Regions from separate parts of the Homo sapiens genome. Here region 2 is linked to region 1. The links are contacts of gene promoters, found by promoter capture Hi-C in blood cells and fetal thymus (Javierre and others, 2016). All regions are on one chromosome and are shown on one strand. Each heading gives the region's core, a stretch centred on a gene start or on the middle of the fragment in contact. The rest is flanking DNA. Distances are from core to core; before and after follow the strand shown.

Region 1 (6,208 bases), core at 2,008-4,507:
TTAATAACAGCACCTCCCTCCCAGAGGAAGTGAAACCGTATCTAACACGTGGTACACACCCAGTAAATATTAGCTACTACTTATGATAATATCTATAATTGTTCTAACATATTCATACATTGTCCATGCTTTAACATTTTATTCGAAGAGGAATCAAAGAGCTAGGAACAAGACTCTAAGCTAAACTGGGCCGCGTGTGAGATGATCTCATTTCACCGCCGTTTCTTCTTTCCTGCACTTTGTGTTATCACGCTTTGTGATTTTTCTATCTGTGGGGCTGTTGGAACCCACGGCCACCGCCTCCACTAGGCTGGGAGCTCGGCCAGGAAGGGCGGGAGGTTTTTTCCTCGCTTGGTCCCAGGGCCAGGCTTGGGCCATGGCACATAGTAGGTGCTTAATACATAGTCGCTGACGGGGATCGGGCTGCGGGTCAGGGGTACTCCCCGCCTCACCCGCGGCGCCCTCCAGAGCAGGAGCGGGCGAAGGAGGGCGGGGAGGGGCGTCTTACCTCTGCTGCTGGTTGAACTTGCACCGGCATCTTCTGCCTGTGGGCGTGGAGAGGTAGGAGAAGCTGAGGCTCCCTCCCGGCGGGCGCCAAGCGGCGCTGTAGCTCCAGCTCGCCCTCGCGAGGGGCGGGGCTTGGGGGACGGGGCGGGGCTAGAGGCGAGACCGGGGGCCGGGGAACCAAGGCAGGGTAGGCGGGGCAAGGCCTGGGAGGGGTTGGGGCGGGGCGGGGCCAGGGAGGGGCGGGACCAGGGAGAAGCGGGGCCAGGGAGAGGGGGGCTAGGGAGAGGCGGGGCCAGGGAGAGGCGGGGCCAGAGAGAGGTGGGGCCAGGGAGAGGCGGGGTAGAGGGCGGGAGCTAGGGGCACTCACTCAGCACGATGAGGATGCCCAGGATGAAGAGGATCCCGGCGATGACGAGGCCTCCGATCTGCAGGGACTGGTAGTCTGTGAGCAGCAGAGCAGGGAAGGTGAGGGCAGGGAAGACAGGAGGGAGAATAGGAGAGGGGTAAATTGGGAAGGAGGGAACAGGGAGAAAGGACCAGCAGGCAGAAGGGGGGAAGTAAGATAATTAAGGGGGAGCAGATATGGGAGGAGGAAAGTGGGGTACCAGGGAGAGGAAAGGGGTGTATAGGAAAGGGAGGGAGGGGACAGGGAGGAGGAGGACAGGGGGGAGAGAAGACGGGAAGAAGCAGAGGATGGGCCACGAGATGCTGAGACAGACGCAGGCAAGAGAAAGAGAACCAGAGAGGTATCACATAGACAGTGACACAGATAGACACAGACAGGAAAAGATGCAGACAGGTGGAATCAGAGAGGAAGGACAAAATAGAGGGAAGGAGAATGACAGAGATATCAATACTGGGACTCTGGGGGAGGGCGAGGGGGAATCAAAGGACCAGCAAAGCCAGGCTCTCCCCCAGGACTCAAAATTAGACCCCCCGCTCACCGTAAGTGAACGGGTCGTGTTCCTTTGGACTTTCTGGAAAGAGAGAGAAATCAGGGGTTGAATGCTTCCTGGGGTCCTGGCAGGGAGGGGCATGAGGAGACCACTGGAGGCTCTGCCTTGCTGGGCTTAGAGTCTGAGGGTGTCTGGGCAGGCTGCCCACACTCTCTGGGTCCCAGCTGCCCCCTCTGCACTGTCCCAGATGGGGCAGGTGGCACCTAACTGCCCCAGCTCCCTGACTCACGGCAGGCTGTCTGTGACCCAGTTATCCCATCGGGGATTCAGCCCCATCCCACCCCATCTTTGCCTGATCTGGGGCTTCCTCTCCCCTCCCCCAAATACCAGCCTGTGACTGGACCCCACGTGGAGACCCCCAAACTTCTTGGTACCCCAGCCGACTTAGTCTAGGTTGGGGTCTCCAACTTGGTTCTTCGGTCCCCACCGCCACCCCTGGGGCTGAGGTGGGTAGCGGGCAGCCTCCCCTGCACTCACCTGCCTTGGCCATGGTGAGGAGACCCACACAGAAAACCAAGATGTGGCCAAGAGACGCCATTGTCCTGGGGGGGACACCACGGATTAGGCAGTGTGTGCCCTTGCTCTCCCACATAGGGCTTGAACCCAAGGGATTAAGTCAGAGACAGTCTGGGGACTGAATCACAGAAGTGTTTGTCCTCTATCTTGGTGGCTCCAAGCTAGAGAAACGGGTATCCCCAGCTTCGTGGGGACACAGTGTCACCAAAACAACCTCCACGATGGGATCACACAACAACACAACGTAGCAGGGACGGGGGTGAGACACACAGTCCCCGGGGGGCCTCCCTTGGGCCTCCACCTCCCGCAGCAGGCCCCCGATTCCCAGACCTACCCTGGCAGGGCAGAGGAGGCGCTGCCTCACACAAACACAGAGCAGGAGACAGCAGGGCACGCCCAAGTCCCACCTGCCTACATGCCCGGCCTCACTGTGCCCCGCGAAATCCCAGCTCCCTGCCCTCTCCGCCCGCCCGCTCGCGGCCTGACCCCGGGTATAAATATCTCCCACTTCACCCTGGAGGAATTCTGCTCGCTCAGGCCACCATGGCAACAGCCTGCCTTCCCCCACTCAGGGGGTCACGCACAGCCCTGCCGGGGTGAGGCCCAGCTGCCACATCGCCACAGGCTGCCCCTGTGGGAAAGGTCACCCCGTCTCCTCCCTGGGCAGCAACGAGAAAAGGAAAAGACAGCCCCTCTGCCCGCCTCTGGGTGACATCTTTCACAATCGGATGTCAGGCAAGTGACATGAGGCCCAGCCCAGTGGGCCTTAGAGATAGAAAACACATGCTGGGGCAGGGATACACACACACACACACACACACACACACACACACACACACAGTGGGGCCGGAATGGACATGAACAACAACCTCTCCCCAAACTGCTGGTTGGAGCAGGACGTGGGGTGTAAACACCGTCAGGCATCCAATACTCCTCCTCTGGGCCTCCGGTGCCCCCACGCAGTGACGCAACCAGCCCTACACACGTGTGTGTCCCAACTCCACACCCTGCCAGGGTGCACACGCACCAGCAGGGCAGGGAGGAGTCACCCACATCCCACCCTGCAGAACCCACTGCCTCAACCACACTCCCTCCCTCTTGGGTTGGCCTGCCTGGGAAGCCTCGGGCTGGCCACTCCTGCTCCCAAAATAGGCGGCCCAGCCAGACCAGGGGTGAGGCCTGGAGGGAAGGAGTGGGGGACGCTCACCCCAATCGGGCTGTCCCCTGCTGAAAGAAGGCCCCCAAACGTCCTGCTGTGCCCCGGGGGCTGAGCACTTTGGACCCCCTGGCCCAGAGCTGGACGCGCCGCCCCCAGCAGCCTCCCCTCCCAGCCCCACCCCACCCATGCCCTCCCCAACCAGCAGCTGAAACTGGAGCTGGGGCTGGAGGGGGGCCAGGGGGCGGCCCCCAGCCCAGACTGCCCTGGCCCGCTTGGTTAACTCTCTCAGTTCAGAGAGAGCAGCAGCAGGCAGCCAGCAGGCAGGCTGGAGAGGCTAGGAGGATTGTGGAGGACAGGGTTGTGAACACACACACACACAAACACACACGCCTCCAAGAGCTTTTGGGCTGAGGCGGCTGCCCCCTGGGAACTGGGTCCAGCCAGGGCCGAAGGTCACCCAGCCTGACTGCCCAGGAGCCCACTGACCCCCGATCCCAGTGCTCCGTGAGGTCCTTAACAGGGCTGTTTTAGAGGACGGGAGGGAGGTGTGTGTGTGTGTGTGTGTGTGCGCGCGCATGTGCGCTATCTGCTGTGGTGAGATCCCCAGAAATGCACCACACACACACACCCACACACAATCCCAAAGACCCAGATATACAGGTACAAAACCAGACAAAACCATGTATGTATGTACATCCATAGAAGCAGACACACACAGAATGACACACTGATAGAGAAACCCAAAGACCCGGACACACAGCCAACACCTTTTATGCCAGTCACAAAATACCAGAACAAGCACATTTATGTCTACACAGACCCACGCACGCTCATGTAGATGGATGGCCACACAGAGATACAGTCAAAGACATAGCCACATCACCATCTACACTCACAAACTGGCCACAAAAATGCATGTTTATGTGAAGACCCACCCACAAATGGCCATACAGAAACACACAAGTATGTGCACACCGCACATAAATGCATTCTAAGATGCATGGCCAAACATGGCCAGGTACGGTGGCTCACACCTGTACTCCCAGCACTTTGGGAGGCCAAGGCGGGAGGATCACTTGAGGCCAGGAGTTCAACACCAGCCTGGCCAACCCGACGAGAGCTCGTCTCTACTAAAAAAATATACAAAAATTAGCTGGGTGTGGTGGCGTGCGCCTGTAATCACGGCTACTCCGGAGGCTGAGGCAGGAGAGTCACTTGAGCCCGGGAGGCAGAGCTTGCAGTGAGCTGAGATCATGCCACTGCACTCTAGCCTGGGCAACAGAGCGAGACTCTGTCTCAAAAACAAAAACAAAACAAAAAAACCCCAAAGGTACAGACATGCAGCCAGCACTCCTACATGGTCCCAAAGATAGGAAGGCCAACAAGCTTGTGTACACACAGACAGATTTCCATGGGCACAGATACACAAGCAGAAACACCATCAAGGACAACCCGCCGCTCTCACACATACCCACAAAAGCAGAAACACACACACTGGTTCACACCCTATGCTTGAGCAAACAGGCACATGGTTGGCCACGGTGACAGATGCGCAGGCTGACACACTTGCATGTTCACACATTCCAAAACCACAGATATGTATTTAACCCCACACTTTCCTTCCCCTGAGCTCTTGTCGGGGACAACACACCTGGCGTCCCCATGGGCAGGCCAGGTTTACAGGTCCTGGTGACAGGGAAACCTGGAATGGCCCAGGCACTGCACTCCTGGTTGTGTGAACTTGAGCAGCTCTGTGCCTCATTTTCACATGCTCCAAAATGGAAAAATCACTAAGATCACGTGTATAATCCTGGACAGGGCTCAGAGGTCTCTGAACTTGACATTGTCTTATGATTAACTTCATTTTTTGTTTGTTTGTTTGAGACCGGGTCTTGCTCTGTCACCCAGGCTGAAGTGCAATGGCACAATCATAGCTCACTGTAGCCTCAACCTCATGGGCTCAAGTGATTCTCCCACCTCAGCTTCCTGAGTAGCTGGGACTATGGGCGTGCGACACCATGCCTGGCTAATTTTTTAATTTTTTGTACAGTCGGGGTTTCTCTATGTTGCCCAGGCTTGTCTTGAACTCCTGGCCCCAAGCGATCCTCCCACTTCAGCCTGCCAAAATGTGGGATTACAGAAATGAGCCACCGTGCCTGGCCTATTATTATTGTCCTTGTCATCCTCCTCCTTGTGAACTGGACTGCTGGGCTGGGCACCCTATGAGAGTGGGTTCAGATCCCTCTGTGCCCCTGGCACTCAGCTCTCCAACTTCACTTTCAGGGACCCTGTTTATCATACCCAATAGTCAGTGAAGGAAACTGAGAGCTGACGGGCATGGCTCAAACCACAAGCTGCTGGGGTCTGCTCCTCTAGGAGCTGGATCCGGAGCCCACCCCCAAGCTTGCCGACCACTGTGGGATGCCCACCTTGTGCTGAACCCCAAAAGGATGAGTTGCCTCCATCACCTGAGTCCTCTCCACAACTGGGAAGCGGGTGCCACGATTGTCCCCGTTTGACAGATGGGAAAACTGAGGCCACACAGGACTGGGCCTGGAACCCAGATCTGCATGACCTCCAAGCTGTTAAGCCCCCTTATCCTCCAACGAGGCTTCTGGGCGTGGGCGTCAGTGTCAAGAGAGGCTGCATGCATTCCTCAATCACAGGATGAGTCTCGTCCCCAGGCGATGAGGTGGTACAGCCTAGGGGTTAGGTTTAGAGCTGACTAGAGCCAGGAAACTAATCACATAACTTCCCTGTGCCTCAGTTTCCCCATCTGTAAAGCAGGGATAGCAGTACTGCCCATCTCACAGGGTGGCTGTGAAGGCTGAGTGAGTATAAACATTACTACTATTTCATCTTAGCTAACAAGTGTCATTTACTTATGTTTCTTATTTAGTGGACAGAATCTATCCAAATGACTAAAATTTAGTCCAGATTAAAACAACCAATTATCCATCTATCCATGAACTCTGATCTCCAAAGAAAGAATGCAAAATAACCTGGAGCCGGATGCCTGGGTTTGAATCCCGGCTGTGCCCTCAGCTGGGTAACCTAGAGTTCAGGTTCC
Region 2 (5,334 bases), core at 941-3,440, 210 kb after region 1:
GCCAGGATGGTCTCCATCTCCTGACTTCGTGATCCGCCCGCCTCAGCCTCCCAAAGTGCTGGGATTACAGGCGTGAGCCACCGCGCGCAGCCGAGTTAGCTCTTACTATGGTAGCTCCCTCTTATCCACAGGGGGGAGATACACTCTAAGATCCTCAGTAGATGTCTGACGGAACCCCATATATACTATGTTTTTTCTTATACATACACACCTATGATTAAGTTTAATTTATAAATTAGGCACCATAAGAGATTTTTATTTTTCTGTTTGTTTGTTTGTTTGAGACAGGGTCTCACTCTGTTGCCCAGGCTGGAGTGCAGTGGTGTGATCTTGGCTCACTGCAACCTCCACCTCCTGGGAGCCTCCCAAGTAGCTGGGATTACAGGTGCCCACCACCACGCCTGGCTAATTTTTGTATTTTTACTAGAGACAGGGTTTCACCATGTTGGCCAGGCTGGTCTCGAACTCCTGACCTCAATTGATCCACCCATCTCAGTATCCCAAAGTGCTGGGATTACAGGCGTGAGCCACCGCACCCGGCCACCATAATTGAGTAATAGCAATAACTAATAATAAAATAGAACAACTATAATAGCATACTGTAATAAAAGTTATGTGAACATGGCCCCTCTCTCTCAAAATATCTTATTGTACCAAAATCACCTATTTTCAGATCATGGTTGACTGAGGGTAACAAAGTGAAGAAAGTGAAACTGCCGATTAAGGGGGCACTACTGCATTGGAGTTATTACGTAAACATTATACATCCTTTATTTCATTTTAATTAAACACTTGTTTCCACTTAATTTAATTTATGTATCTATCTATCTATCTATCTATATATATATATATATATATATATATATATATATTTTTTTTTTTTTAGAGAAGGGATCTCGCTCTGTCGCCCAGGCTGGATTGCGGTGGTGCCATCTCCACTCACTGCAACCTCCGCCGCCTCCCAGCTTCAAGCACTTCTCCCACCTCCGCCTCTCAAGTAGCTGTGACTACAAGCGCACGCCACCATGCCTGGCTAATTTTTATATTTTTAGTAGAGACGGGGTTTCACCATGTTGCCATGTTGGTGGTCTCGAACTCCTGAGCTCAGGCAATCCACCCGCCTCAGCTTCCCAAAGTGCTGGGATTACAGGCATGAGCCATGGCACCCGACCTGTTTCCACTTTTTACTTAAAACGTAAGTTTCTCTGGCATGCTTTCTTTTAATTCTAACTAAAAAATTAAGAGCAACTCTTCTTTAAAAACAAACAAATAAAAAACCAACAGAAAAGATTCTCTGACATTTCAATTTCCTCTGTCCCCTAGCAGCTAGAGAGAGAGAGCTACTGCTGTGGGATAATGCAAAATTGAAGAACCTTAAGAAAAAGCTGGGTCCTATTTCTGTGCAATATGGAGATTGATGGAAATGTTTACAGCTGTCATCTTGCTCTCCTTTCTTACATAATTTTGTCATTAGTTAAGTAATCTGCACAACAGATCCTTTGAAGTCCTTTTCCCTGCACTGATAATTTTCAGATGACATTGCTCTCATCTTTAAAAGGTGTAAATACTTTATACAGTTTTTTCCAAACAAGAAGAGGCTTCCTGGCAATCCCATTTCTTCCCGCTGCATGCAAAAGGTATCATAACTATCGTTTCCTTTTTAAACTGAGAGTTGAAGAGTCTTTTGCTCCTTTACATAAATCAATTACAGTGATTTTATCCAAAATAGTAACAAATATTAATAGCTCAGGTTCGCATGGAGGCCATGCACCCAGTCTTCGCGGATGCACACCGGCCCCGGCCGACGCACCCTCCCTGCCCTGCCGCTCCCGCACTCGCCGGCCCGGGATCCTCGCCCGGTCCACCCAACGCTCACGCATGTCTCAGTCCGGGTTCCGCGCCGACACAGGTCTGCAGAGCTCCCGGTGCTGTGTTCGTTTGCAGAAATTCAAGTTGCCCGGCGGGGCTGCTCCAACCTCGGAGCTGGGCGCTGACTTCTCCCTCGATGAACTCCAAAGCTCGCTGCCGGGTCAACGACCACAATGAACTGGCGAGGAGGCAGAGATTGAGGTCGTTCCAGTGGCCGCTGAGAAATGTAGTTTCAGGCTACATTGGCCGGATAGCTGCAGCCTCTGGGAAATGCAGTCCTGAGCCGTCACACCGCCGAGCATGCCCGGCGCAGTCCACAAGGCCGCCCACCGGCGCCCGGAGACTTCTGGGCGCTCCCGTCCGGCTGAGAATGCGCAGGCGCAGGCGCTCGAGTTGCTGGGAGCCATAGACCTCGAAGCTGGGGCGTCTGACACCTGAGGCCCGAAGTAGGTGGCCAGCTTCTTAGAGGGCCAACCCAGGGCATTAACACACCAGGTCAGAAAAAGCAAAAACAAAAACAAACAAAAAATGATAATCTATACCAAAATATGTTATTACTTTAACACAAAAATATGAAAACTAGGTGTTTGAAATTATCTTTCCGTACTGTTTGCTTTTCGCTACAGAAATGCTATTATTTAACAGAATATTAATAGGATTAATAGTGGCAATTAGACTAATCACGTGTGAGAAAAATATATTTCTGTCCTCTGATACAGGAATTTTAAGTTTCTATTAAATATTTAAATTTTGTGGGTTCTATCTAAGATGCTAAATGTAAGACCTTTTAAAAGGAGAATGTAAATAAGGCTAATCAAACAGATATTAACTATATGTAATAGGCATTTATCTTTCTGTCCCATCATACGTTTAGGAGATATTTACTCTTTCTGGTTCCTTTTCCAGTAACACCTCTCTGTATTAGCTGCCTGTAGCCTTTATGGCATTCTTCTTTTGGTTTATGTAATGCTAAAACTGAATACAGGCAAACGTGAAATTCACCTTGACTGTCAGCTCCGCTTTTTGTTTGTTTTGTTTTTGTTTTGTTTTGAGACAGGGTCTCCCTCTGTCGCTCAGACTGGAATGCAGTGGCGCTATCTCGGCTTACTGTAACCTCTGCCTCCCAGGTTCAAGTGATTCTCCCACCTCGGCCTCCAGAGTAGCTGAGACTACAGGGGCGCGCCACTACACCTGGCTAATTTTTGTATATTTTTTGTAGAAATGGGGTTTTGCCATCTTGCCCAGGCTAGTCTCGAACTCCTGGGCTCAAGCGATCCACCCGCCTCAGCCTCCCAAAGTGCTGGGATGACAGGGTGAGCCACCGCGGCCAGCCGAGCTCTGTTCTTATTAAGCCCACATTACAGTGATTCCTGGAGTCAGTCCAGGGTGATGACATTGATAAGGAGGTGGGGAAGGGGAGTGCTGGGGAGGGAAGGGCGGGGTCCCTTTAAATGATATGGAAGGGGGAAAGGGAGGTGCTGGGTACAGGAGGGTGTGGTCCCTGGCTAGGGCTCCACCCCTGGCCCTGTGCCAACTGACCTAGGTGAGGGCAGGCATTTTTGTTTTCCTGCCCAAATGTTGCGTTTCCCAAGACCACCCTGGCCTGCCACGCCCCCATCCTGTTCCCGCCCCCATCCTGTCCCTATAAATACTCTGAGACCCTAGCAAGCAGACACACAAGCCGCTGGACATCCAGAGGAACATGTTGGCGGAAGAAGACATGACAGACGCTGGCACGCGGGCAGGCCACCCACCAGAAGGACGCGGAGTTTGGCTGGGGCAGTCCAAGGAGAGCCGGTGCTGCGGAGCAGCCCGATTCCAGGGGAAAACCATTTCCCTTCTGGCTCCCCCAACTGTTGAGAGCTACTTCCACTCAAAACCCTGCAGTCATCCTCCAAGCCCATGTGTGATCTGATTCTTCTGGTACACCAAGACAGGAACCCCGGGATATGAAAGCCCTCTGTCCTTGCGATAACGCAGGGATCTAATTGAATTGACTAACATAAGCCGCCTGCGGACAGCTAAAGAGCATCCTGTAACACGCCCACTGGGGCTTCAGCTATAAACATTCACCCCTAGACACTGCCATGGGGTCAGAGCCCCACAGCCCGCCCGTCTGTATACTCCCCTGGAGGTTTGAGCAGCGGGACACTGAAGAAGCGAGCCACACCCCCATCGCACGCCCTGCCAGGGGGACAAGGGAACTTTTCTCTTATCAACATCAACCTAAGTAGCCTCGCATCAAAAGCATTTGACTGTCAATAGTTAGGATTTTCCCTACCAGCAGTAGCAAGTTTTTAGCCTTATTGGAATTAGTTTCCAGCTCTGCAAAAATGTTCATCTGCTTTGTAACTCCAGGCTTTTTTGGTAGAGCAGCTGTTTGTTGACCAGTCGCTTTGCCTCTGTAAGTTCACCATATAGGCTATTCATGTCTAAAGTGTTCATTTTCAAACCCTCTGAAACTCATTGGGTATCTATTACAATGTCTGAAGACAAATATTTCATTAACAAATAAGAAGGTGATAGACCTGGAGTGAGAATCCACCCAATTCATGTCAATCGGAGACAAATTTGCAATATCCTGTGATTCCTGAACTGGCTGTGGTCACTGATCACTTCTGTCCTGGAGGAACTAGAGACATTCAAGACAAATAAGGACTCATCTAGTCCCCTGATTAAAGGACTTTTCATAGAGGCTGCATTAAGGGCCAAATTATGTACAATGTGCTCTCTGAGATGGGGATGTGTAAATAGCCGTCAAAATGTCATCTGGGCAGAAATTTGTTTGGGAGGATAAATTTATGTTCAGGGGTGAGGGGTGAATACAATAGAAATTTGTATTTTGCAGAGGGAAATGTGGGTTCCATGGTGGGTAGAAATAAAATAGATTAGTAGAATACTTAGAATGTCAAAGAAATTTTTAAATCATAGGGTTTTTTTTTTGAGAAAATTTTTGAAATGATTTTGAAATGATTTATTCAAAAAGTGCCCCTCAAAAGTGATCACTCCATAGATGACAGCTAAGGATCGCAATCTTACTGCTATGCCCTTGTGTTTTGAGTGAAGACTTGTGTGACTATAGTGAGGGTCTAGGTGTTTAATCGTCAGAGGTAAATTGGAGATTTCAGATGAGGCTGTCTCATGGAAGAGGGAGGAAGGATACTCACAAACCCTACAGCTGGAATCTGAGCATCCAGTGGAAAATGACAGTCCCTGATCCCTCAGGAAACTTTCTCTGGCCACTGTCAGTGATGTTCTAATCTAGGAGAGCAGAACTTTCCCCCTTATAATGTTTCTCACTGCATTTCCTGAAATATATTTCGTCTAAGTTCCATACGTTTATCTGAAAAGAATAACCACTTACCAAATTGTGTTTCCAACTAGGATAGTGGCCGCAGTTGTATTATCTTGTGCATTTGTCAAGAGAGGTCATCCGAACGCTGAGATAAAGGCTTGGGATTCCAT

What was found. Contacts are between HindIII fragments. The CHiCAGO score rates a contact against its expected background, and 5 or more counts as called.
Region 2: a contact is called between the fragment with the promoter of ZNF30 here and the fragment with the promoter of FXYD1 in region 1, in 5 of 17 cell types (neutrophils, erythroblasts, non-activated CD4 T cells and 2 more). The highest score is 10.8, in neutrophils.

What each region holds. Positions count from the first base shown.
Region 1 is chr19:35,135,873-35,142,080 of GRCh38, reverse strand. It overlaps FXYD1 (FXYD domain containing ion transport regulator 1), which reads right to left and starts at 3,257. Exons shown (of 8, transcript NM_021902.4): 1 at 3,187-3,257; 2 at 1,941-2,005; 3 at 1,452-1,484; 4 at 875-949; 5 at 509-545. The coding sequence starts at 2,001. RefSeq lists silencers at 486-705, 816-945 and an enhancer at 289-851. The HindIII fragment of the contact is 25,239 bases long and covers 1-4,526 here.
Region 2 is chr19:34,923,759-34,929,092 of GRCh38, reverse strand. It overlaps ZNF30 (zinc finger protein 30), which reads right to left and starts at 2,190. Exons shown (of 5, transcript NM_194325.3): 1 at 1,877-2,190. ZNF30-AS1 (ZNF30 antisense RNA 1) reads left to right here and starts at 2,267. Exons shown (of 3, transcript NR_110749.1): 1 at 2,267-2,364; 2 at 5,259-5,334. The HindIII fragment of the contact is 20,354 bases long and covers 1-5,334 here.